Regions from separate parts of the Homo sapiens genome. Here all the other regions are linked to region 3. Evidence: promoter capture Hi-C in human tissues and cell types (Jung and others, 2019). All regions are on one chromosome and are shown on one strand. Each heading gives the region's core, a stretch centred on a gene start or on the middle of the fragment in contact. The rest is flanking DNA. Distances are from core to core; before and after follow the strand shown.

Evidence for each region. The method cuts DNA at HindIII sites, captures the fragments that hold promoters and counts their contacts. A contact is called where the count stands out against the background at its distance.
Region 1: a contact is called between a fragment that was not itself captured here and the fragment with the promoter of FOXG1 in region 3, in 2 of the 25 tissues and cell types used here (IMR-90 fibroblasts and lymphoblastoid cells).
Region 2: a contact is called between a fragment that was not itself captured here and the fragment with the promoter of FOXG1 in region 3, in 4 of the 25 tissues and cell types used here (liver, lymphoblastoid cells, mesendoderm cells and 1 more).
Region 4: a contact is called between a fragment that was not itself captured here and the fragment with the promoter of FOXG1 in region 3, in 2 of the 25 tissues and cell types used here (lymphoblastoid cells and spleen).
Region 5: a fragment that was not itself captured here is called in contact with the fragment with the promoter of FOXG1 in region 3 in 1 of the 25 tissues and cell types used here (lymphoblastoid cells).
Region 6: a contact is called between a fragment that was not itself captured here and the fragment with the promoter of FOXG1 in region 3, in 4 of the 25 tissues and cell types used here (IMR-90 fibroblasts, lymphoblastoid cells, mesendoderm cells and 1 more).
Region 7: a contact is called between a fragment that was not itself captured here and the fragment with the promoter of FOXG1 in region 3, in 2 of the 25 tissues and cell types used here (dorsolateral prefrontal cortex and lymphoblastoid cells).

The regions. Positions count from the first base shown.
Region 1 is chr14:29,268,802-29,272,109 of GRCh38, forward strand. All of the region lies in intron 5 of LOC102724934 (a long non-coding RNA gene), which reads right to left. Among named protein-coding and RNA genes, the nearest start is that of LINC02326, 210 kb to the left of the region's middle. The HindIII fragment of the contact is 5,908 bases long and covers 1-3,308 here.
Region 2 is chr14:29,178,757-29,181,931 of GRCh38, forward strand. It overlaps a transcript of LOC107984685 not described here. Among named protein-coding and RNA genes, the nearest start is that of LINC02326, 120 kb to the left of the region's middle. The HindIII fragment of the contact is 3,859 bases long and covers 1-3,175 here.
Region 3 is chr14:28,764,754-28,768,036 of GRCh38, forward strand. FOXG1 (forkhead box G1) reads left to right here and starts at 2,034. Exons shown (of 1, transcript NM_005249.5): 1 at 2,034-3,283. The coding sequence starts at 2,527. FOXG1-AS1 (FOXG1 antisense RNA 1) reads right to left here and starts at 566. Exons shown (of 7, transcript NR_125758.1): 1 at 407-566. RefSeq lists an enhancer at 1,165-1,689. The HindIII fragment of the contact is 7,501 bases long and covers 1,483-3,283 here.
Region 4 is chr14:29,098,099-29,101,175 of GRCh38, forward strand. All of the region lies in intron 9 of LOC107984685 (a long non-coding RNA gene), which reads left to right. Among named protein-coding and RNA genes, the nearest start is that of LINC02326, 35 kb to the left of the region's middle. The HindIII fragment of the contact is 4,658 bases long and covers 1-3,077 here.
Region 5 is chr14:29,143,654-29,147,045 of GRCh38, forward strand. All of the region lies in intron 9 of LOC107984685 (a long non-coding RNA gene), which reads left to right. Among named protein-coding and RNA genes, the nearest start is that of LINC02326, 80 kb to the left of the region's middle. The HindIII fragment of the contact is 5,947 bases long and covers 1-3,392 here.
Region 6 is chr14:29,239,866-29,243,163 of GRCh38, forward strand. All of the region lies in intron 6 of LOC102724934 (a long non-coding RNA gene), which reads right to left. Among named protein-coding and RNA genes, the nearest start is that of LINC02326, 180 kb to the left of the region's middle. RefSeq lists an enhancer at 1,814-3,298. The HindIII fragment of the contact is 6,012 bases long and covers 1-3,298 here.
Region 7 is chr14:29,205,415-29,208,733 of GRCh38, forward strand. No RefSeq gene overlaps it. Among named protein-coding and RNA genes, the nearest start is that of LINC02326, 140 kb to the left of the region's middle. The HindIII fragment of the contact is 3,407 bases long and covers 323-3,319 here.

The DNA of each region.
Region 1 (3,308 bases), core at 771-3,270, 500 kb after region 3:
AATTTCCAATGCTATAGTAATTAGCACCTCTAGCACTCAAATTGTAATTTCTAAATATCATTTCATAGTACAAGCAATAAAGACTCCTTGGAGAAATAGAGGATTCTGAGTTCTGGGTAGGAAATTTAAGATAATCTTGGGGCATCTTATCATACAAGAATGTGAGAAAACTCTCAAAGCCTCCACGGCTATATCAAAAAGCCTCAGAAGTCAACTTAAATAAGGAGTTTAATAATTATTGCAATCAATAATTGCGATAGATTGAAATACATCAAACACGTTCTAATCCATGAGCTCATAATAGTTCTTTAAAAATGAAGAAATAAAACTCACTGGTCAACTTTGGAAGATGCTAGGAAATCAACTTAGGAAGATGCTAGGGAATCAACTTATCAGTTTGCAAACTGTTTTATAAAGAGCAATAGACATCTGAATTTTCTAAATGAGCTATAAATCAGTGTAATCAAATTATTTATGAGAAGTTTCATGTTATAGTAGTATTTCAGTTAATAAAAGATTGAAGTAGAATATCGCCATTTTGTAATAACTGCTATAATACCAACAGGGAAACAAAAGACAATGAAATAGTACACAACACAACCTATAAACAATTATTTTGGTTTTCTGTTTCTGTTTTTTTTGTTTTTGTTTTTTGTTTTTTTGAGAAAGGGTTTTGTTCTGTTCACCTGGACTGGAGTGCAGAGTGCAGTGGCGAGATCACAGCCTCGACCTTCTGGGCTCAAATGATTCTCCCATTTCACTCTCCAAAGAAGTAGCTGGGACTAAGGGGGCACGCCATGCTCGTCTAAATTTTTTTTTTTTTTTTTTTTTTAAATACAGGGTTTACCATGTTGCCCAAGCTAGTCTCGAATTCCTGGGCTCAAACAATCTACTGTCCTCGGCCTCCCAAAGTGCTGGGATTATAGGCATGAGCCATGGTGCCTGGCCCAATTCTGGCCAAAAAAAAAAATTGAACCTAAATCTGTTCAAGATTTTAAATTCAACCACCATTTTCAGGAATACATAGGGAACAGAAGTGCATAGCAAATCCTACCCTGAGTATGTGGTCAGCAAAATAGAGACTGTGTTTCAAGAAAAAAGAGGTGAAAGATGAAACTAAAGATTTAAAGAGATTTCAGAAACATAAACCAACTCAAGTGAATGGGCCTTATTTGGACAATAATTCAAAGAAATTAATTATAAAGAAATTTTATATAAAAATTGAAGAAATCTAAACACTGATTGCATGTTTGGGATTGTTAAAAATTATTGATTTTTTAGGTATGAAAATGGTATTATGGTTGTTTGTTTTTCATTATTCCTTATCTTTTAGAAATTTATATTAAATCAATAGGTGAAGTGAAATGATGATGGGCTTCAAAAAATCTGGAGGTAAAGTAGGTAGGCAAGAATATAGATAAAATAAGATTAGTCATGAATTGATAATTTTTGAAGCTGAGTGGTGAATATTTGGGGGTTCATTATATTCTCTTTAATATTGTTTGAAATTTTTCCTAATAAAAGATAAGAGAAAGAAATTCATATTATTCCATTCTTCTGATTTCTTACATCAGGTTCTCCTTTTCCTGTACTAAAAAAAAACTTACCATCACAGTGGTTTCTTTAACCAGAATTTTAACCCCTAAGCTTCATGTTGAACATGCTCATTATGTTCATTCTCTAAATCTTAAAACACAACTTTCTACAAGTAGCTACTTTGCTCTGAACATGTAAGTGGTTCTCCACTTTCCTCAAAATAAACCTTAGTTTACTCTTTATTTGTAGTAAAGTATCTTATTTTCGAAATACTTTAAAATCTGTTTCTATCCAGCTCTCTGAATATTTCTTTTAGTTTTCCTTATGAACTCTAAGGTATGGTCAAAGCACTCTTATTTGTATACTGGTCTACTTGTCCTTAGAAGAGGCCGTAGGAACTTCCTCTTCTGTCTTGTAGTACGTCTGTCTCAGTAGGTATATTTATATTTATCTGAATGTGTTTCTTCCTCAAAGACCAATTCAAGTGTCACCTGCTCCATCAACCTTTTTCTAAAGACACTTCGGTCCACAAACAATTCTCTCTTTAAACTCCAGAATAAATTATTTCCTTACTACTCATTTTATCACATGCTCCTCTACATGACTAGTGTTATTTTAATGCACATATTTTACTTTTTCGATGTCGGGGACTATGCCAGATTTCTATGTACTCAAGAACCTACTGCAGTATCTTACATAATTTTCCAACAAATGTGTGTTGTTGTTGTGGTTGTCATTGCTGCCATTATTGTCGTTGGGGGTGGTGATGTTGATGATGATTGTGGTGGTAATGATAATGATGATAAAGGAAGTTCATTTGACAATAGTTGTCAGGATCCCAAAATTTTTCATTAAGATGACCTTGCCTCTAGATACTTATGGCTAAATTTGAGAGTAGTAACTCACAGAACTAAAACTTCAACTTTCCTATGGTCCTCAGAAGTCTAATTCATGTGTTTCAATAACTTAGTCTTCATAATCAAGATGATTTAAAACATACAAGTAAGCAAATGAAAGACAAAATTTAATTTTCAAAATTCTTCATCGGCTTTCTACTTCTCAGAGGAAAAATTACAAATGTCTTGGTATAGCATCAAAATTTTACAGTCTGCTCTAAAATCCAAAATCAAATTTTATTCTCATTGTTTCCCTTTATGCATACACTACTTCAGTTAAAATCACCTAATTTTAAGTATCTTTGGAATTATTCCTATATTGGCATTAAACTTCCTTAGTTTAGATCTTCCCAGTTTCTTAGATTGTTTCAATCCCTTTTCTAAAGGAGCACCTGGCCTCTAAGTGTATACTTTCCATTTCATGCTTCACCCTTCACTGAAGCCCAATAAGGCTTAACCCTGCTTAAAATTCTTCTTTGACTGTTTTAGATGTAAAGGCTAAATGCTTTAACATAGTGTTCTGGATCCTTTAAATGATCTTATTACTTCAATATCTATTATATGTTTGGGACTTACTACAGAGTGTAAACACTATACACCCAGTCCTATGAGCTATTGTCTAATGAGGGGGAAATGGTTATAAACCAACAGATATAAACATGTGATAAAGAACAAGAGCTATGACACATACACACAAAAAATACATGCCATGAGAAGGAAATTTAAAAAAACATATTTAGATTGAAGATCAGAAGAGGCCTTTCTACTGAAGTAACATTTAAGTTGATTCCTTTATATACAGAAAAAGTTACCTGAGATAAATTTTGAGAAGGCTCTGAAACTACACAGAGCAATGAATTCGCAATATATACCATC
Region 2 (3,175 bases), core at 406-2,905, 410 kb after region 3:
GTTTTAAACATTATTATTTTCATAAATCTACATAGAAGACTATCAAAAATGTCAACACACACAGGCACACACACTCACACACACAAATCTTATAAAAGAAATTTGGAAAACAGATCATTCATTACAAAGAATGAGGAGAAAAAATAATGGAAAGTAATTTACTATTTGGTCTTAATAAATGCCATCTTCTCCTGAATTTTTCTCTTCCTACATAGTTTCAATAGCAATAAGTATGTTTCATCTGGCCTTCCAGGTTTCTCAGTGAACACCCCCCACAAAAAAAATTATTTAAGTCCAATCCTGCAACTGTATTTTCTCAAATGGTGATGGAATAAAAGAGAGGGATGGGGAAGAGTAAAATTCATCATAGACACATTTGCTGAAAAAGTCTGGCAGATGAACAAAACATGATTTTTTGAGAGGCTCTGTAATGGATAGTTCTTTTTTCTCACTTATGTACTTATGTGAAACTAGGAAAGATAGTAAAGTGCAAAAAAAAAATCTACCAACTAAAAAAAATTACAAAATCTTAGCAGCTTTGCCTGTAGCGACTTATAGTTAAGTTATCCAAATGCTCTTAAAGCTGCCTTTTTATTTTCTTTCATTTTGACACTATAATATACTGTTTCATTTTCAAAATCAGAATGTGAATCGGATAGATGCAGTAAATTGATAAATTCTACATCTGTGATTTTCTCTTCAGTAGTAGAAATAATGTCATATCTTAAGGTCAAAGATTATTAACCAGAAATCATTAAAACTACTGAGTTTCAAATAGTTTTCTTATCTTCTAGAGGAAGAGGCCAAGAAGCATATTTAAATTTTTAACATTTTTTCCACACATTAGTTGGGCTACATTTTTATTTTTAAAGCAAAATTAAACAAATATGTCCACTTTAGGGAGATTCTATAAACCATTCAATTCAGTTTAGGTTAACAAGAAACTGAAATCCATAATAAAATATGTTGTTGAATTGTCATTTTACTTACTAATTTCTTCATAGCTTCTTACATATTTTGAATACATTCCTCACATTATTTTGGAAAGGAAAATACAGTTGTTTTCTTTTTTTTTTTAAGAGGCTTTTTGATGCTAACAAATAAGCTTATCCTTCTGGTATACATGAGATGGCATATTGAAGACACTTTTTCTTAATAACATCTACTGGTAATCATTTAGAAATTGTGGAATCTCTATTGAGGCATATAATAAGCTACCACTGAAACGGAAAGATTGCTAGATTATCTCATCGACAGAGTTCACTCTTTTAGTGCTGTTCCCCCAAATAGCTATCCACAATTTACTTTTAGGGCTATATGCCCTAAACTATTTATGTGATTGCCAAGTACAAATTGTTCTGATATTCATACTGTGTTGTAGGGCACATTGCTCTGTTAAAAAGAGGTTTCCTAAGGAATCTGTTTGTTTTATTGGAATTCTGGTGTTTGTAATGTTTCTTTTAATGAGATGATGAATTTATGGTTGAGGCTGTGACAAGAGTTCAGTCTTTTCGTTAGAATAAAGATTGCCGGCCAGGCGCGGTGGCTCACGCCTGTAATCCCAGCACGCTGGGAGGCCGATGCGGGTGGATCACGAGATCAGGAGATGGAGACCATCCTGGCCAACAAGGTGAAACCCCGTCTCTACTAAAAAAAATACAAGAAAATTAGCCGGGCGTGGTGATGGGCGACTGTAGTCCCAGCTGCTCGGGAGGCTGAGGCAGGGGAATGGCGTGAACCCGGGAGGCAGAGCTTGCAGTGAGCCGAGATCACGCCACAGCACTCCAGCCTAGGCAACAGAGTGAGACTGCGTCTCAAAAAACAAACAAACAAACAAAATTGCTTCTCCAGAGCTGACAAAATCCTTCAGTGTCACTGAAGCTCTTTGTCTGGCTGTAGATACTCAGAATAAAGCTTTGAGACAGTGGAAATGACTTGCTCTTTGGCAAGTCTCTTCACATTTCTGCCTCTACCCTATGGGGCAAGTCTTATACAGCAGCTTCAGAACAGGAACCTGACTGTCCAATCTAGATTGTTAATCTTATTTTCCAAACCAAAATAGAAACCAAGAAATGGAGCATATAGCAAGCTAATTATAATCTAATCAGCTTTTGAAATTTCAGTCAAAAAATAACACAAAGATTTCCCCTTAACAGAATGGAAATATTGAGGTGCAGTTTATGTATCAGAAAAATGAAGGCAATTATGAGACAAGAAGGCTCTCAGAATTTTCACAAGAAAAAATGTTGAGAAAATGTTGAAGTGGGAGAAGGTTTGCACTTTTTTTGTATTTTTTTTAACAGAGATGAAATATAATACTGGCTTGTTAGAGATCATCTGAATCTGGGGGCATATGGAAGCAAGTATTGTAAATGCCATTCTGAAACAGGTAGTCTTCAACCATAAGGAGTAGTTTGGTTAATATCTGGGAAATACTACTCATTTAGTCTTTCCCTTATACATAAGTCACAAAGCACGAAAAGAAAGACTTGGAATGATAAAAAGCATGGCATATTTAGCAAAGCAGATACGTAGACTTCAAGAGGTATAGATTTAAAAAGAGTAAAGTTGAATGAACTAGTCATTTTAGCTTGTTATTAAAATAAGAAACTGAACAAATGGCTGGATTTCTGAAAATGCTAAATTCGAATCCTGATTTGATAAAATACTTGAGTTTTTTAACTTAAGGAAATCATTTAAATCTTAATCTGTAAATGAAGAAAAAAAAGAACTGCTCTCACTATATAAGGATTTTGTGGAGAAATATGCAAGAACAACATGCCACACAAATGCTAAATAATAGCAACAAGGGTGGTAATACTGCCAAATGAAACTTCTTTTTTGTCAATTAGTTTAATGTCAAGATTGAATCATTTCAAACGTTCACATAACAGGACTTTACTAATCACTATGAAGCACGGCCCAGGCCAGGGAAATCCATATGTCTTTTCAGTTCCCAGATCGGCAGTGCACAGATTTTTGAAATTGCTTTTTACTAATGTCCGTAAGTAGATGAACAACACTAGACAAATAATGCTCTCAGAGTTTTATGTTTTCACGGTTTTTTTCTTCCTCACTTTTTATTTCTGTGCTCCCTGTCATACCAAGGAGTATAACCTGCTGCTTAAAATGGTGTTTAATAGCATATAGTAACTCTCAACTGAAATTCATGGAA
Region 3 (3,283 bases), core at 784-3,283:
TTTGTTTTAAAGTGAGAAGATATGTAGACATAGGTAAAGATACATACATACAGTGGAAGGACATTTGAGGTTAGTCCAATATTCAAAGCTCCTTTGTGGCATTCCTAATAGATGCATATTTAAAATTCACTAGCTATTTGTAATTATCTATTATTCTCTCCAGTTTCCTCCCCCCCCCCCAACCTTTTCTCTCTTTCTCTTTCTTAAGACTGGGGGTGGGGAGGATGGAATAACCCCCTATTATCCTGAGTATTCATCAACCGCATTCTTTATGTTACAATTTAACTTTAGGATCAAGCATAAGCACCAATTTTCCTTCCTTCGTTTTCTTAAATACCAAATCTGCCAGATATCTTAATGAAAGTTTATCCAAGTGAAGAAATGCTTACATTTTATAATTATTTACCTTCTAGAGGAAGGAAAAGGTGCCTTTCATTTATGCTTCTCCACCTCCCTCTTCTCTGGGGCTACATCCTCCGTAAAATGTGGTATGTTTCGTGCCCATGTGGGATGAAACAGCCTTTGATCAATGTGCTCCCCACTAAATTCCAATCCCTGGGAAATGCTGGGCCTTAGCCCTGCCCCTGGCCACGGGATCCTTTTAAAGCCCCCGATTCGCAATTTCCCCATTCACTTCAACCTCCAACCGAACCTTCCCAGTTCCAAAGCCCAAGAAGCTGGGACTGTGAGATCCACGTTCCCAAGGCTCCCCGGTGCTTTCCAGCAGCACTCAGGGTTGGCAAGAGCTGGCTTCAGTATACTGTTATTTCAGGAATGAGGCCCGCACAAAATAAAAGCATTTGAGAAACGGAAAGGAAAAAAAAGGAGTGAAAATAGGAAGGCTTAAAAAAAAAACCGGAAAGAAATAGACGCCCACCCTTATTTTCCCTCCAATGTCAACAAGCAAAACGAAAATATTTCCAGGGTGATCGCTCGCAGCTACCCGCTTCCAATTCGGATTAGAAGCTGAGGCTGGAGCGGCGAGGAGAAAACGACATCGAGTCACCCCGCGCGTGAGCGACGCTCTGGAGCAGGAGAGAAGGAAAAGGAAGAGACACACGTATATAGCATGTGTTACCTGATTTATTTCGAGATTGTTTGGTACTGTTTTCTCTCTGGGCACCTCTCATTTCGGAAGGCCATCAGAGGCGCCCACTACTGAGCGGCCCCGGCCGCCGCAGCAGCACCCGGAGCCCCAGTCCCGGTTTCCCCGCGGTGCCGGAGCCCGGAGCTCGCCGCCGCCCAGGCCTCAGGAATCGAGTAAGTAACCCCTGTTTGGCCCCGCGCTCCTCTGCCCACTTCCTCCTCCTCATCTCATCGCTCCCAAAGCTCTCCCACACCCTCCTCCCCCGAAGTAAAGGACACCCCCGCACACACGCCAGCGGTGGGCCTTATCTCCCCCCTTATCCAAAGCTGCGCTAGACTATTACCTACAAAGGGCACAATTTTCCTGCTGGCTCAGAAATGCCAGACACTGGCCTGCAAGGCCGACTCGGAAAAGTAGTGCCTCGCCTCTACCTCCTCCATTTCCTGCCCTCTCGCATCCTCTCCCTGCACTCCCACTCTTCCCACTACCACCACCACCCCCGCTTTCAAAAATAAAATTGGATACAAACTTTAATCACTAAGGACAAATATTGACGCTTAAACGAAAATGACCCAGTACAATGAGGAGGAAGCCGGAAATGTGAGCTATTGGCCCTAGGAGGGGAATTTCGGTGGAGCGGAGCCGGCGGGGTGGAGGGGGTGGCGGGGGCGCAGGGAAGGGCTGCGGCACCGCGTGCTCCCGCCGGCGTATCCCTACGCGGCTCCGCGCGGCCTCGGGGTCCGAGGCCCGCGGAGAGGGGGAGGCGAGCGCCCGAGGGGGCGGCAGCCGGCGGGCGGGGCGGGGGTGGGTGGGCCCGGCCCCTCCGATTGGTCGACGGCGAGAGAGACGCTCCCGCACGCCGCCAGCTCTGATTGGCCCAGCGGTAGGAAAGGTTAAACCAAAAATTTTTTTACAGCCCTAGTGTGCGCCTGTAGCTCGGAAAATTAATTGTGGCTATAGCCGCCTCGATCGCTGTCTCCCCAGCCTCGCCGCGGCCGCTCCGGGACGCGCCCGCCCGCCGCCCGGCTCTCCCCCCCTTTGGGCTGCTGCTGCTGCTGCTGTGACTGCTGCTGCGAGAGGAGGAGGAGGAGGAGGAAGCAGCGGGGGGGGGAGCGGGGGGTGGGGGGGGAGACCAAGAAGTACAGTTGGGAGCGAGGGAGCTTCACCCCCGGGGCGGTGGTTGTTTCTTTTTTCTTTCTTTCTTTTTTCTTTTCCTTTTTTTTTTTTTTTCTAATTCCTGAGGGGTGGTTGCTGCTTTTGCTACATGACTTGCCAGCGCCCGAGCCTGCGGTCCAACTGCGCTGCTGCCGGAGCGCTCAGTGCCGCCGCTGCCGCCCGCGCCCCCCGCGCCCCGTTCGGCACCCACCGGTCGCCGCCGCCCGCCGCGCCGCTGTCCCGCTCCCGCGCCGCCGCCGCCGTTTCCCCCCGACGACTGGGTGATGCTGGACATGGGAGATAGGAAAGAGGTGAAAATGATCCCCAAGTCCTCGTTCAGCATCAACAGCCTGGTGCCCGAGGCGGTCCAGAACGACAACCACCACGCGAGCCACGGCCACCACAACAGCCACCACCCCCAGCACCACCACCACCACCACCACCATCACCACCACCCGCCGCCGCCCGCCCCGCAACCGCCGCCGCCGCCGCAGCAGCAGCAGCCGCCGCCGCCGCCGCCCCCGGCACCGCAGCCCCCCCAGACGCGGGGCGCCCCGGCCGCCGACGACGACAAGGGCCCCCAGCAGCTGCTGCTCCCGCCGCCGCCACCGCCACCACCGGCCGCCGCCCTGGACGGGGCTAAAGCGGACGGGCTGGGCGGCAAGGGCGAGCCGGGCGGCGGGCCGGGGGAGCTGGCGCCCGTCGGGCCGGACGAGAAGGAGAAGGGCGCCGGCGCCGGGGGGGAGGAGAAGAAGGGGGCGGGCGAGGGCGGCAAGGACGGGGAGGGGGGCAAGGAGGGCGAGAAGAAGAACGGCAAGTACGAGAAGCCGCCGTTCAGCTACAACGCGCTCATCATGATGGCCATCCGGCAGAGCCCCGAGAAGCGGCTCACGCTCAACGGCATCTACGAGTTCATCATGAAGAACTTCCCTTACTACCGCGAGAACAAGCAGGGCTGGCAGAACTCCATCCGCCACAATCTGTCCCTCAACAAGTGCTTCGTGAAGGTGCCGCGCCACTACGACGACCCGGGCAAGGGCA
Region 4 (3,077 bases), core at 292-2,791, 330 kb after region 3:
TGATGGTTATAATTTCCAACCATCAACTCTCAGCATATACATTTTATGAATTTTCAAACAGTAAACTAACATCCAAGCATTCGTTTAGTTTTCCGTGAGCACAATGAACCCATTGGTTCCCATCATCTCCGTGGCATATCTTCTTTCCCTGGAGAGAAGAGCAGTAAATAAAAATGACAATGACAATTATTTTTGCAAGAGTTTCCTGAACAAAAGGATAAGAGTGAAATGTTTGTTAGTAAACTTCAGCTCCATGGTGAGAAGATGTTATTAGCAGAAGCTGATTAAAAAACAAAATTTTGATAATTTTAAAAGGTAAATCATTTAAGATCCTTCACGCTGTAGTATAACATAGGCAAGTGCATTGATTTGGAAATAACAGTCTTATTTACTAATTACAGAAGCTATTCATTTTGTACATACTGCACTCCCTTTCTTTCCCCTCTCTTTCACCCCCTCATTAATAGATTTAGAACTGACAGTGCTTTCACTTCTAAGTATAAAGAATAATTTTCTTCTGAACATAGAGACAACGATGAAATCAAAGTTTAAAATATAGTCCTCTTCTAACAGCGATTCAGATTTCCATTAAACCTCCTCCCACCCTCTCAAATTAAAGTTTGAAAAGCAGAGCTCAGAAATAAACTGACAGGCACTAGTGCTTCGTTCATTTCCAGCAAGGAAGCACCAATTTGATTCCTACCATAACAATTTTTGCTGTTGCCAGTGCATCAGATTTTTTTAACACAGCTTCTCAAGTGATAGAAATCATCCCGTCACTTTGTTTCATAAAATTGACACCCTGGGGAAATGCAAAATATAGTAAGAACTTGAGCAAAGCTTCTCCTCCAACCCCTGCTAGGTATTCCTGAAATCCTTTTTTTCCTCTTAAACGAATGTCATCAATCCCAATTGCTTGTTGTTCTTTTCTCCTTGTTCTGCTCATGTGCTACAACATCCCTTGGCTTCCCTGAGCACAAGAGTTGGTGTTTTTAAAAGTGTTACTCATAGATAGGATTCTACTGCTGGCTGATTGGAATGCAGCGACAAATAAAAAAAAAGAAACTTGATGAAATTATTTCACACACAGAGCAATAAACATATGGAATAAATTACTACAGAAGACGATTCAAAGAGTTTAAGAAACACCTGGATTTGTTTCTGGAGGCAGTCGATTGGAGAGTAGCATTAGAAACAGGAGGGTGAAATAAAAGCAACACTCAAGAAGCCAAGAGTCAGGGCTCTAACCTCTTGTTGAAATGGCACCTCCTCTTGCAGTTGCTGCACAGGAGTCTATTAGGGAAAGACTTCTCGAATACACTGGGAACAAGTCAGACTAAGTCACAGGAGCTACCTTTCTAAAGGGGCTGGTCACTGGATTTCACTAAAGGAAGTAAATGCTGGAAGATTCTTCTCAATCCAGAAAGAGGGGAATAATGTCTGAATATGCAGGAACTGAAACTCAGCAATTGGTTTGAGATCTGGTGAAGGCTTACCATTTTAGCCACATCTCAGACCTCTTTCCACCACCCTTCCTCCCTATTCTCCAGGCATATTCCGACTGTTCAGACATGATTGACGCCCCTCCCAATCTGTACGCATGTTGCTGTTACTTTTCCCAAATCTTCCCTTCATTCTTCAGTACCGAGGTCACCCTTTCTGTGACATCTCAGTTTATATTAATGTCTCCCTCTGTGTCCTATACCAGATGCAAAATATCTTTATGTGTTTATTAATCTTCACCTCAGCACTCCACAAAGTGCCTGGCTCATAGGAGATGTTTAGCATATAAAACATTTATTTTGTCTTACTTTGTTCCAGAGAAGAATTAAAGTGTTTGATAAAATAATAGCTAACATTACCAAGCCTTTAACATGTGCCAGGCACTGTTCCAAGTGCTTCGCATGTTTTAACTCATTTGGTGCTCATAACGGCACTGAGGATGAGCAAGTTTGCGATGTAGGTATTAATGTTATCCCTATTTTGAAAGTGAGGAAATAGAGGTGCAGAGATTTGGGCTAACTTGCCCATGGTCAGCCAGCTAGGGAAGAGCAAAATTTGGGTTGGCCTCAGCCAGAGGTTAGTTGGTTCCAGAGGCAGTATTCTTGACCATGACTCTGACTACCTGAATGCCTAATGTAGCAAGGAGACAAAAATAGGAGAAAGTGATACGAAATAAACAGCTGAGGTCACAAACAAACTCTTAATTAGGCTAATTAAAAAGGCATATTGTAATGCCCTATACACATTTTATTATTCATAATCCAATTTAAGAGATAAACTTTATCAATTCGTTAGTTAAATGATGAAACAAAAGCAAATCAGTTACTCAGGAGGTTATTCTTGATAACAAAACCTGAATTTTTTTATCCTATGCGGTTCATAGAAGACAATGGTGCATTAAATTGTTCCTTTATTCAACCATCCAAGTGTTCACCTATCCAAATAGCAGACCTAGGTATTTAAGCAGCTAGGAATAGTGGGTTTCAGGACAAACACTTTGTAAAAGTATATATGACTATACAAAATGATATGCACTGATTTTACATATCTAAATGGACAGTAGACATCCAATCATTCAACAAATAGACGTTGAACCTCTACAGTGTGTCAGGTGTTATTCTAGGTCCTAATGACTCAGTGATGAACCAAAAAAAGGTATCGTTCCCCTTTTGGTTCATCATATTGCCCTCATGGAGCTTAAGTTCTAGATGAAGAGGCAAATGATAAACAAATGATAATGTCAGGTGGGGTTAACAGCTAGAAATTAAATAAAACATTATGAGGATAAAGAATAACTAGGGAAAGGGGGACTCTCTTTTAGAAAATATGGTTAGGAAATATCTCTCTGAAAAGATAATAACTAAACAGAGACCTGAGTCAAAAAAGATATCAGAGACTGTTTTCTACTTTTTCCTTAATTATTCCAGCTGGAAATCCAGATGAAATGTTATCACTTATTTGTGTAACTTCAGGCAATAGAGAAAAAATGTATTTGATGATTTGTTCTGTAAATCATCCTTTCTTCCTGATATGTTCCTTTATTAGTGGTAAATACAAATTTTTTGGAGGCCTGA
Region 5 (3,392 bases), core at 263-2,762, 380 kb after region 3:
ATGGCTATAATATGGTGAGGGATAGTATGATTTCTCTAAGTGCTAAGTTTAATTATTTCATGATATTTTATACATGGTAATTCAACTCCAAATTAAAGTAACTCATCTCATTGTGTATTCAACCACATGAGGTCAAATTATATCTTTCACGATTATTTTGCAGGCATAGGTTTTTGCTTTCAAAGATAATTTACTTAGTTTCAAAACATAAAACAATCTTCCAGGTACATGATTACTATGAAAACAAGGTTTCAAAATATTTGATTTCAGAAGTTCAAGAAGGCAAAAAGGATTTATTTTTGCTTTATATTTGTTTTGTTTTTCCCCAAATTATGCCAAAAACATTTTCTGATATTTCAATAAATGTCATTTCTGATATTTCATATATTCCAGTAACATGTGTGGCCCACCAACCTTTACCCTACTTTTTTCTCATGAAACAAAAGCAAGAGGAATTCTTACTTCATGCGTAACATATACTTTACCCTGTGAAAATCTCAACTGAAGGATGATGCTAAAGCTAATAGCTTTGAAAGTTTAGGAGAAAATGATTAGAAACTGATATGAGCAAAACTAACAATATGTGGCTAATAAATTAGGATAAAATAACCAGATATATCCATGCTTATTCTGCAGAACATAATCTCCTAACATTTGCGAAAACACCCAAGCCTTATTCTGGGATTACATGACATGCCTGCATTTTACCACTAGTTTATAAAGGGCTGTTGGTTCTATCATTTTCCCAGTATGACTAATTTTTTAAGTCTTGATAACTGGTCTATTATTTCTACATATCCCACCATAACCCTAAAAGGAAACATAGAGGTAAAGGTTACAAAAATGTTTTATCTGCCACACCATGAAATCTGTCCTACTTGCAAGTGAAAAGTCTCCTGTAGAACCCTTTCTTGCCATCAAGAATCCAAATTAGCAACAGCTTGCAATGATAATCAGTTCATTTCAGTGTACTCAAAATGGGCTCATTATTATTAATTTTTGCCAACTCCCAAGCAATTCATGAACCATTTTTAGATTTTCAAAAAGCAGTTCATGAATCAGACAAAAAAAATTTAAAAGGAACCCATCCCACAATGAGATGATGACTCAGAGTCCTTTGCTGTAGCTGTGTCAACTGCCGAGCATCTGAAATCTGATGAGGATGGGGTTGATGGAGAAAAGGCCATGATGAGCATGAAACAATGTGTTGAATTTACATGTTAAAACTTCTTGTTGGTTTTGGCAATTTTGCTGAAGATTATTGAGAAATCCATAACATCTGGATGTGGGGGAGAAGCTCCACTAAAATGATGAAGTTTATATTGGTCGACAAGACTATAAATGGAAAAGAAAGTAGTTTCTTAACACAGCTGTTTCCAATTTTGTTAACATTTTAGTCCAAATTCATTTGAAAAAAAAAAAAGAAATAACATAAAACTCTTATGTTTGAGATATACTCTACAAGTCTGACTTGATGTACACATGCTGAAGACATTCTTGACTCAAACTAGCATATCTAGAGAATGGACAAATGAGCCCTTAGTCCTAAATCTAGGCCCTATCTGTCTTGGAAATGCACACCAGTGTAAGGCATTTAGCCATGGAATCTGGATTTCAAAGTCAAGTAATCCTTTTAGGTTAATTTGTTTTTAAGTGAAATAAAACCATCAGACTCCTGGCACTGTCTTATGTTGCAGTACATGTCATATCTCTCGTGCCTTAGAAAACGATATAATTTAATGGGTAGTTCATTGATTCAACCTCAAAGGAACTAAATTCTCTCTGTTCTTTCACTGACTTGGTGACTTTATATTCATCTATTCTTTCTGTGCTTTATTTTTTCCTTCTGCAAGGTGGGCAATATGCAATAAGACTTAAGAAAATATATGCAAACATGTTTCCTTGTGCTCTTGAAGGAACACTGAATAAATCAGATACGTTAATATACCTATATTTGCGTATATACGTACACATGTACAGATATGCATATACATACACATACAAACATACAGATAGATGTATGTATTTATTTCCATCAATGTCATTTTGGCTTCAAATTTCCCATTTTTCTGTTATTAGTCTTCTTATATCTTTTTAAAAAATATTTTACCAGGAAAAGTGGCAAACAGTTGAAAATTCCCTATTCTATTTTTTTGCCTCCTCTTTCCTTCTTTTCCTTTCCTTTTCCTTTTCTTCTGTTGCAGCCCTCAATTTTTTTCTGTTTTCCTGCACAAAGAACAAAAGTGAAATAAGAACCTCAGAGATAATAGGCTCCACTCTTGTTTTCCTTTTATGGATCTCTGAAGTCATTATGCAGCTGAGTAAAGTGGGAACAGCATCTTTATAAAATGTTCTGTTAGCTTGCTGATGCTTTTTGGCTAAAGATGACTCTTAAATATTGATGACAACTACAAGTTACTTTCAATGCTTTTATTTTCAGAATTCAAGATTTGGTAAAGGCATGAGCATACTGATATCAGATAGATTGGTTAGCTCTCTTTGACGTAAGTCAAGCCTGGGACAGCAAGATGTTTTAAAGATCATCAACAATATGATCAATATAGATTGCCAAAATCAATTCTGGAGTCTGACTCTGCCTGCTGTGAGCAGTTGTCATAATGTTCTTTGAGAAAATTGGCAAGAAATGATGAGGATTCTGTCAACAGACATCCATCAATAGAAAATAATCCCCCTGCAGACATATTACACTCCTTTTGCCTTTTCTTTGCAAATAAGTCATAAATAAGGAAATCCTGGTTAAACCTTTGTGATTAACTGACTTAATATAATAACTTAACTAAGATATTTCTTTGTTTTGAATAAAGATATTAAATGAAAGTTTGCATTTCTCAATTTATAAAGTACTTCAGACTTCAGAAATAGTACCAGTACCCACCACATGAAATTTATTCAACACCTCCAGAAGTGATTTTCAAACTTGGTCGTCTCTTTTCCATAGTTACAAAATTTCATACTTGGAGAGCTTATCAATGGGCTTTGGTGAGGGTCATTTTTTATTTCACAGGTTTCCACTTTGAGGAAGCTGGGTATTTGTTTGACTATACCATTTTTGGCTTTACAGTTTTCCACATAGGACCCAAAGATGCTGAGAATCCATGGATTCTATGGATGATTTTCATGACGTCTATGAAATTTTAAAAATTGAGTAAGATTATTTCTGTATGTGGACACGTTTATATTGTTGATGGAGACAGGAATTCTAACAATTGTCTGATTTACCAAGAAGTCTACGATTTTTTTTTAAAGGAACAATGGAGGAAGGAAAGAAGGAAAAATTGACCTGTAAATAATTTGTAAAAACTGGTTAACTTAACCCTACCTAGATATTCACTTATTTTAAAAGTAAATACTTATTAAGTGCCTATGATGTG
Region 6 (3,298 bases), core at 397-2,896, 470 kb after region 3:
ATAAAATATGTCCACAGGGAGGGAGGCATAGGGTTCAGATAACACAAATCAATGGTATTCTAAAATGGAATTTATAACTTCTGTGACTTGTCAATGTTAAATACTAAAAACCTGTAAGCTCCAGACATAAACGCCTTCAGAGTGTGCTTAAGGAAATAAGCTCTCAGATTTAATACAATTTAATCTCATGACTACAAATCAACTATCTTTCTCTTATAATTTGTTGTTATGGAAAACTATGAACTCTTAAGTGTACTTAAAACCAGGAAATGTTCTTCTTAGTTTATACTAGTTATCAAAAGCGGTGGAAGAACATAGGAAGCTAACTCTGAGAAGCGGATATCTTTAGTAAATATGACTAAGGGATTATGACTTTTGTTGGTCACAGTGAATTGCCAGAATCCAGTGATTCAGGCAATTGTTTTTGCTAAGATGGTTTGATATAAGGTTATTTCTTTCAGGCGTAATATTTTTTAATGTCAGCCTTTACTAACCAAAGGAAAAGAGTCATGAAAAATGGATGAAGAAACACATTTTAATCTAATGAATCATATCCTAAAAAATGACCAGCAAGTATAGTAGAGACATAATAGATTTCCTAAAGTTAAAATTACTAGTTATTTGCATAATCCCAACATTTGTCTGTTAAAACTAAATGTACCCACATATTTTTTTGTTTCAAAAAAGAACAGCAGGCAAAATAGCCATAGAGTGAAAATTCATGGATCTGACAAAAATTATATATGATAAAGTCGATTTATGCTGAATAAATCCCCAATTTACTTTTTCTTTATTCGAAGTTTGAATATAGAACTGCTTCTTAGTTTTATGCCAACTTTTGAATAAATGAGTCATAAGAAGTAAAGCTATTTGTTGATAACAGAAAATATAATAACAGTAATCACATTTTGACATTTCTATTGCACCTTTCACCTTGATAAAATCTAAGGCAATTAATCTGAAAGTCATTTCTCTACTCAGAATTTTCAAGCCCCAACTAAATCCAGTTATCTTCTAAGTTACCTCGAAGTGTAAGCAGAGCATCCACTGCCCTGTTGGCCTGTCAACCTACATGAATAGCACTTGCTGCTAACAGACTTCTGAGGCCAGGTGAATGTATATGGACCTTTAAATAATGGCCAGTAGGTCAAAAAAGCTAATGTCATTTCATATCCAGTAATGAATCATACAACTTCACTGACATTATATGTCAAGGCTAGGTATGCCCAGCCACTAAGCAGTTAATCTGTCAACCCAACAGAATATTAGTATCTTGAAGTTTTAAGGGCACTTGTACATTGTATAATTTAAATTCCAGCCAGGAAACAGGAAACAGTTTTACAACATTTCTGTCTTATCAACTGACTGTCTTAACATCTTCAGTAGATGGGCAATTCTAAGTGTCAGGAGAATATCTATGTTGTCTATAGGTTTAATCTTAGATGCCTATTTTTTATGTTGCTAAACACATATAAGACTTTCTAAGTATTTAAAAATCTGATGAATAAAAATTTAAAACACTATGCTAAAGGTACTAGAGGTTAAAAACCTCTAGAGTTTTTAATTGAGTTAGAAACACTATTGTAAAGGTTGGAATATAGCTTCACAGCACAGTGGTTGCACAAAGGAAGGAATAGCCATTCTACCTGGGTAAAAGAGTAGATCAGATAAGGCTTCATGGACATAATGTTTTATGGAAAAAATGTTATGCAAAAAATAGTATGGAATAAAATTTTATTTGCATTATTACCTAAGTTACATAAAGAAAAAAATGAATAACAAAATGAAGGAGGCCAATGTATTAAACATGGTGCCTTTGCAGGCTTGAATGATGGTTTTTGTTTTGTTTTGTTTTGCATAGTTAGGGGATCATGTAATATTTGATATTCAGGTGAAAAAAGTCAAAACAACAACAAAATTTGTGGGAACTAGAATAAAACACATTGGGTCTACTTGAGGAAGAAGATGATTTTTTTCATAATCACCCCTTTCCTACTTTAATTAGCTAGCATCAGAGAAGAGAGTACTTTCAAGAGAAAGGGTAAAGAATCCTAAATGGATCTACCACAGAGACAAACTTAATAATTCTACTACCTCTACAACAGTTAGATAACATTCACCGTGAGACAGCTGAGTATATGTCGGCTTCTAAACTATAGCATGCAGGCACGTAAAACAGTATTTGCATTAACACACTCTTTATGAAATGAATTTGAAAGACTTTTCTGAGTTGTCCTGAAAAAAAAAAGCAGCCTCCCACAGCTGGCTCCTCTATTTTTGGCTTCTCCTATCCCTGTTTTCATGGCAGCTGAGAAATATTAATGTGAGAAAAGTATCTTTTATTTTAGTCTTTAGAAAAGAACTCAACAGAAAACCCTGCAACTTCAGCAGTAGATGATAAGAGTTCCAAGATCACACTGTGGAAGTACATTATTGAAACAACCTGTAGGAAAGGGAACATAATATAAAATAATATGTTCCACTTACATATGACATACCCAAAACTTATGCTGTTTACATATAATGATTAAATTAACATATTTTGCCAAAAGTTAATAGGTCCCCTAGGAATGATTATATAAAATAGGTTTGTAATCAATCTCATACAGAGAAAAGGCACAGTGGAAGAAAAAAGATTTATTTGATCCACCACCATTCAACAGAAACAAGTGATGAATAGATCTATTTGAAGATTGGAGAAACATTTAGCTTTATGAGAAATTTTCCTCCTGATGTTTCCTATGATACATGCATACATATAAAATCAAATGCTTCATGACATTAATCTAGAAAAAAAGTACCTGCCACATTTGATTCAGCAAACTGGCTTTTAAAAAGAAATACAGAATTTTAGTCCCATATCCAAACCACATTTGAAAGAGTAATGACAAGTTACTTGAGTTTTATTGACTCAATCAGATCATATGGTGAGTCATTTCCAGACATATCGATAAACTCATTGATTCCTCTCATTCTTGTAGTCACTGGACTATAGAAAAAAGGATCAGTAGCCATTTGACCTTCATTGTGTATTAAACAAACACCAGATGGCAAGGATTCATTCAGGAAATCCATTCTTTCTTCTTCATAGTCATGTTCACACTGTTGCTTCCCACTGAGCCTTTATCTCTGTTTGTCATGGTGCCAGAGCTGCCTGCATAGCACCTTTCATGCATCACAGCTTTCAAATCTTGTCCCATTAGTTTCATTTTGTTTCCATCATAAATAATCTTCCACTTTCTCATACACTCTTTCATTATCTAATAATGGGCTGGGTCATTATACAAAGGAGCCAAGT
Region 7 (3,319 bases), core at 776-3,275, 440 kb after region 3:
GAAGAATGCTTAAAACATATTTAATGTATTGTTTTATCAAAAATTTTCCAAAATCTAATGATGCACAAACATATAAATTCTCAAAAGACTACAAATCACTTATAATTCTAAATTATAGTTGCATATATTTGTGAATGGAGTATAGATATAATTGTTTCTAATATCAGGAAAACCTCTCCATTGTATCATAAATTGTTCTAAAAATGTTGCCTTCTAACTCTATGTCCGAGTGCTGCAATAAAATAGTACGTGATTATACTTTGATATATTAACCTCCGTTAAATAAACTCATTCATATGAAAATGTTCAGAACTGTTTTGAATATATATTTATTTTCTTAGCTCTCATCTGTAGTTGGCTATTTCTCTCAACCTGCTCTAGGGAAAGTGGAATAGTCTAGGTTGGATGATGTATATTTATTAGCTTCAGAATCACATCTGTGTGCTCAGATTGGAGGAAAGGTCATAAACACAATGAATGTTGCTAGGAAACCATGCCTTTTAGTCAATTTAGTTGTGAAGATGAAAGGAATTTTTTTTTTTTTGGTACAAAGATGGGCTATTTGTAAAGTACAATGAATAATCATTTTATTTTGATCTTTGAATTTATCATTTAAAAAATAACACTTTTCATTAGTAGCTTTTCCTATTTATTACTTGGATTTCAAATGTTTGAAATTCAAGACATCAATGTAGCTTTCTATGAAAAGAAAGATTCGTGGCAATTTTCATTTAAAGAAAATAATCTTGGTGAAATTCAGGGATATCTAATCCTTAGGGCAGCCCATATGAATCATAAAAAGATTAATAATCAAATAGTAAAAGTCAAGGAACAAGTAGCTAAATCCCTTGAAATAGCCATTAAAAGGATTTGAAAGCTCAAGTGCTATAAACAACTCTGACACTTCTTTTCGTGTTTCAGAACTACAGGACTGTGATCCTGGAAACTTTTCACAAAGATTAATCCGAAAGGAAACAGACATGTTTTACTGGTCAACAATAATTAGATGGTCCTTTGACATAATTAAGTACTCTAACTCCACAGGACTGTATTAGCCTACTTACATACCTAATTAGAAGCTTATGTTGTCTGTGTCTGTGTTTATTGATTTTGAATCAAAACGTAATTTTAACCAGGTAGGTTTTTATTGGATCAATTTTACTGGAATATTTAAGCAGTATTTGTTGGTACAAGTTATATTAATGACGAAAAATCCAGCAGATTAGCACTGCAATAGACATCTGGTTTTTTAAGTATGGGGCTTATATCCCTTCTTTAATAATTGTTTCTTGTTTCTCTCATTCCATTTGATTTGAGTGGCTCTGTTAATGGTTTGGCTTCATCTTCCCTCCACACAGGTGGATATGTCACTCAGGCTGGCCAATCAGAATAATCCCAGGTCACATTGTGTTTGAAAAAGAGAAGGAAAGCTAGTGTGAATGGCACCTAATTGGTGTGAGGTGATAGGAAATGAAGCTGGGGAAGTAGGTAAAAGCCAGGGTGCATAAGGCCTTCTGAGCCAGAGTCAAAAAAATGGAATTTATCTAAGAAGTGTGTTAGAAAACTTGGGGTTAGGCAGAAGTGTGACATGATCTAATTTATGTTTATAAAAGATCACTCAAGCTGCTAAATCAGAAAGGATTGAGGGACTGAGCAAGCATTTTGGAGGCTATGACAATAGTGTTTGTGAAAAATGATGCTGACTTGGGCTAGGGTAGTAACAATGGAAATGGACAGAAGCTGATGGACTCAAAATAACTTTTGCACATGGAGCTAACAAGTGTTGCTGGCAGATTGTATACAGGGTATGTGCCTAAGAGAGAACTCAAGGATGACTCCTGGATTATTAGTTTGAACAACAAAGTGTGGCATTGCTATTATGTCAATTGGAAAGCCAAGAGGAAGAACTGGGTTAAAGGTGCAATTAAGAGTTTTGTTTTAGGCTAATTAAATTTTAGAGTATCTCCAAGTGAAGATGTTAAGTAGGTAGCTGGCCATGATGTTTAGAAAGACAGGATAATAAAGACCAATTTTTGAGTCAATTACAAATAGTTAATATTTAAATCCATGGGACTGATTGAGATGACTGATGGAGAAAATATTGATAGGAAAAAGAAAAGGACTACAGACTTTAATAAACAATGTAGTTAATTTAAAATGCACTAGATGATTAAGAGTAATTTTGGTAAGGAAATAAAATGCCACATTTTTACACTTATTTACAAAGGTTTTTGGTATTATGTCACATCCATAATACCCAAAATTAAATGTATTAAGCATTCAGACAAGTCATTTTTACCACTGCGTAGATGGAAAAATTGAGGACTGAGAGATTGTGTCCAGACCTCACCACCAGTAAGTGATGGAGTCAGGCCTAGAACAGAGACCTTTCTAACTCTAATCCATTGCTTTTTCTGTTACACATTTTGGAAACTCTACTTGCAAATACAAGACCCTCAGGGCTATTACTGATGCTATTTGCCTCTACACTAACATCCTCAGTTTTTAATGCTTGAGTTCCTATGTCTAATTAGTTTTCTATCCTAGCCTTTGTTCTCTAATGTCACTTCTTGCTGCAACCTGCCTCAGAGTTTTTCCCTCTAGTGATCTACTGTTATTATTCTATGAGCTGTGAAAATAGATGTAGAATTATTATGAATACAATAAGTTAAAATAGTCTTTGAGAGGCTCTGATTAGTTGTATGCCATGACCTTACTGCATTGTCTTGAAACATATATCACAACTATTCATGGCCTTTCACTTATTATCTCATTGTTTCTTTGTATTTCTCTTATGAACTGAATAGGTTGTCAAATAAATGATTTCTGATGGCTAGTGCAATTTTGTTGTTGTTGTTGTTGTTGTTGTTTTATTTGTTTTATTATTATACTTTAAGTTCTGGGGTACCTTGCAGAACGTGCAGTTTTGTTATATAGGTATACATGTGCCATGATGGTTTGCTGCACTCATCAACCCGTCATCATCTACATTGGGTATTTCTCCTAATGTTATCTCTCCCCTAGCCCCCCCTACCCCCCAACAGGCCCCAGTGTGTGATGTTCCCCTCCCTATGTCCATGTGTTCTCATTGTTCAACTCCTACTTATGAGTGAGAACATGCGGTGTTTGGTTTTCTGTTCTTGTGACAGTTTGCTGAGAATGATGGTTTTTCAGCTTCATCCATGTGCAATTTTTAACAGTCATGCATCTTTTTCCTGGACCACATGCTGCACTAGTCCACATTGTTAAGTGTCGGTTTCACCCTCAATTTCTGGGATAGCGGTTCTAAAAGGTCACAGTGAAGTTTTGGTTATTCTTT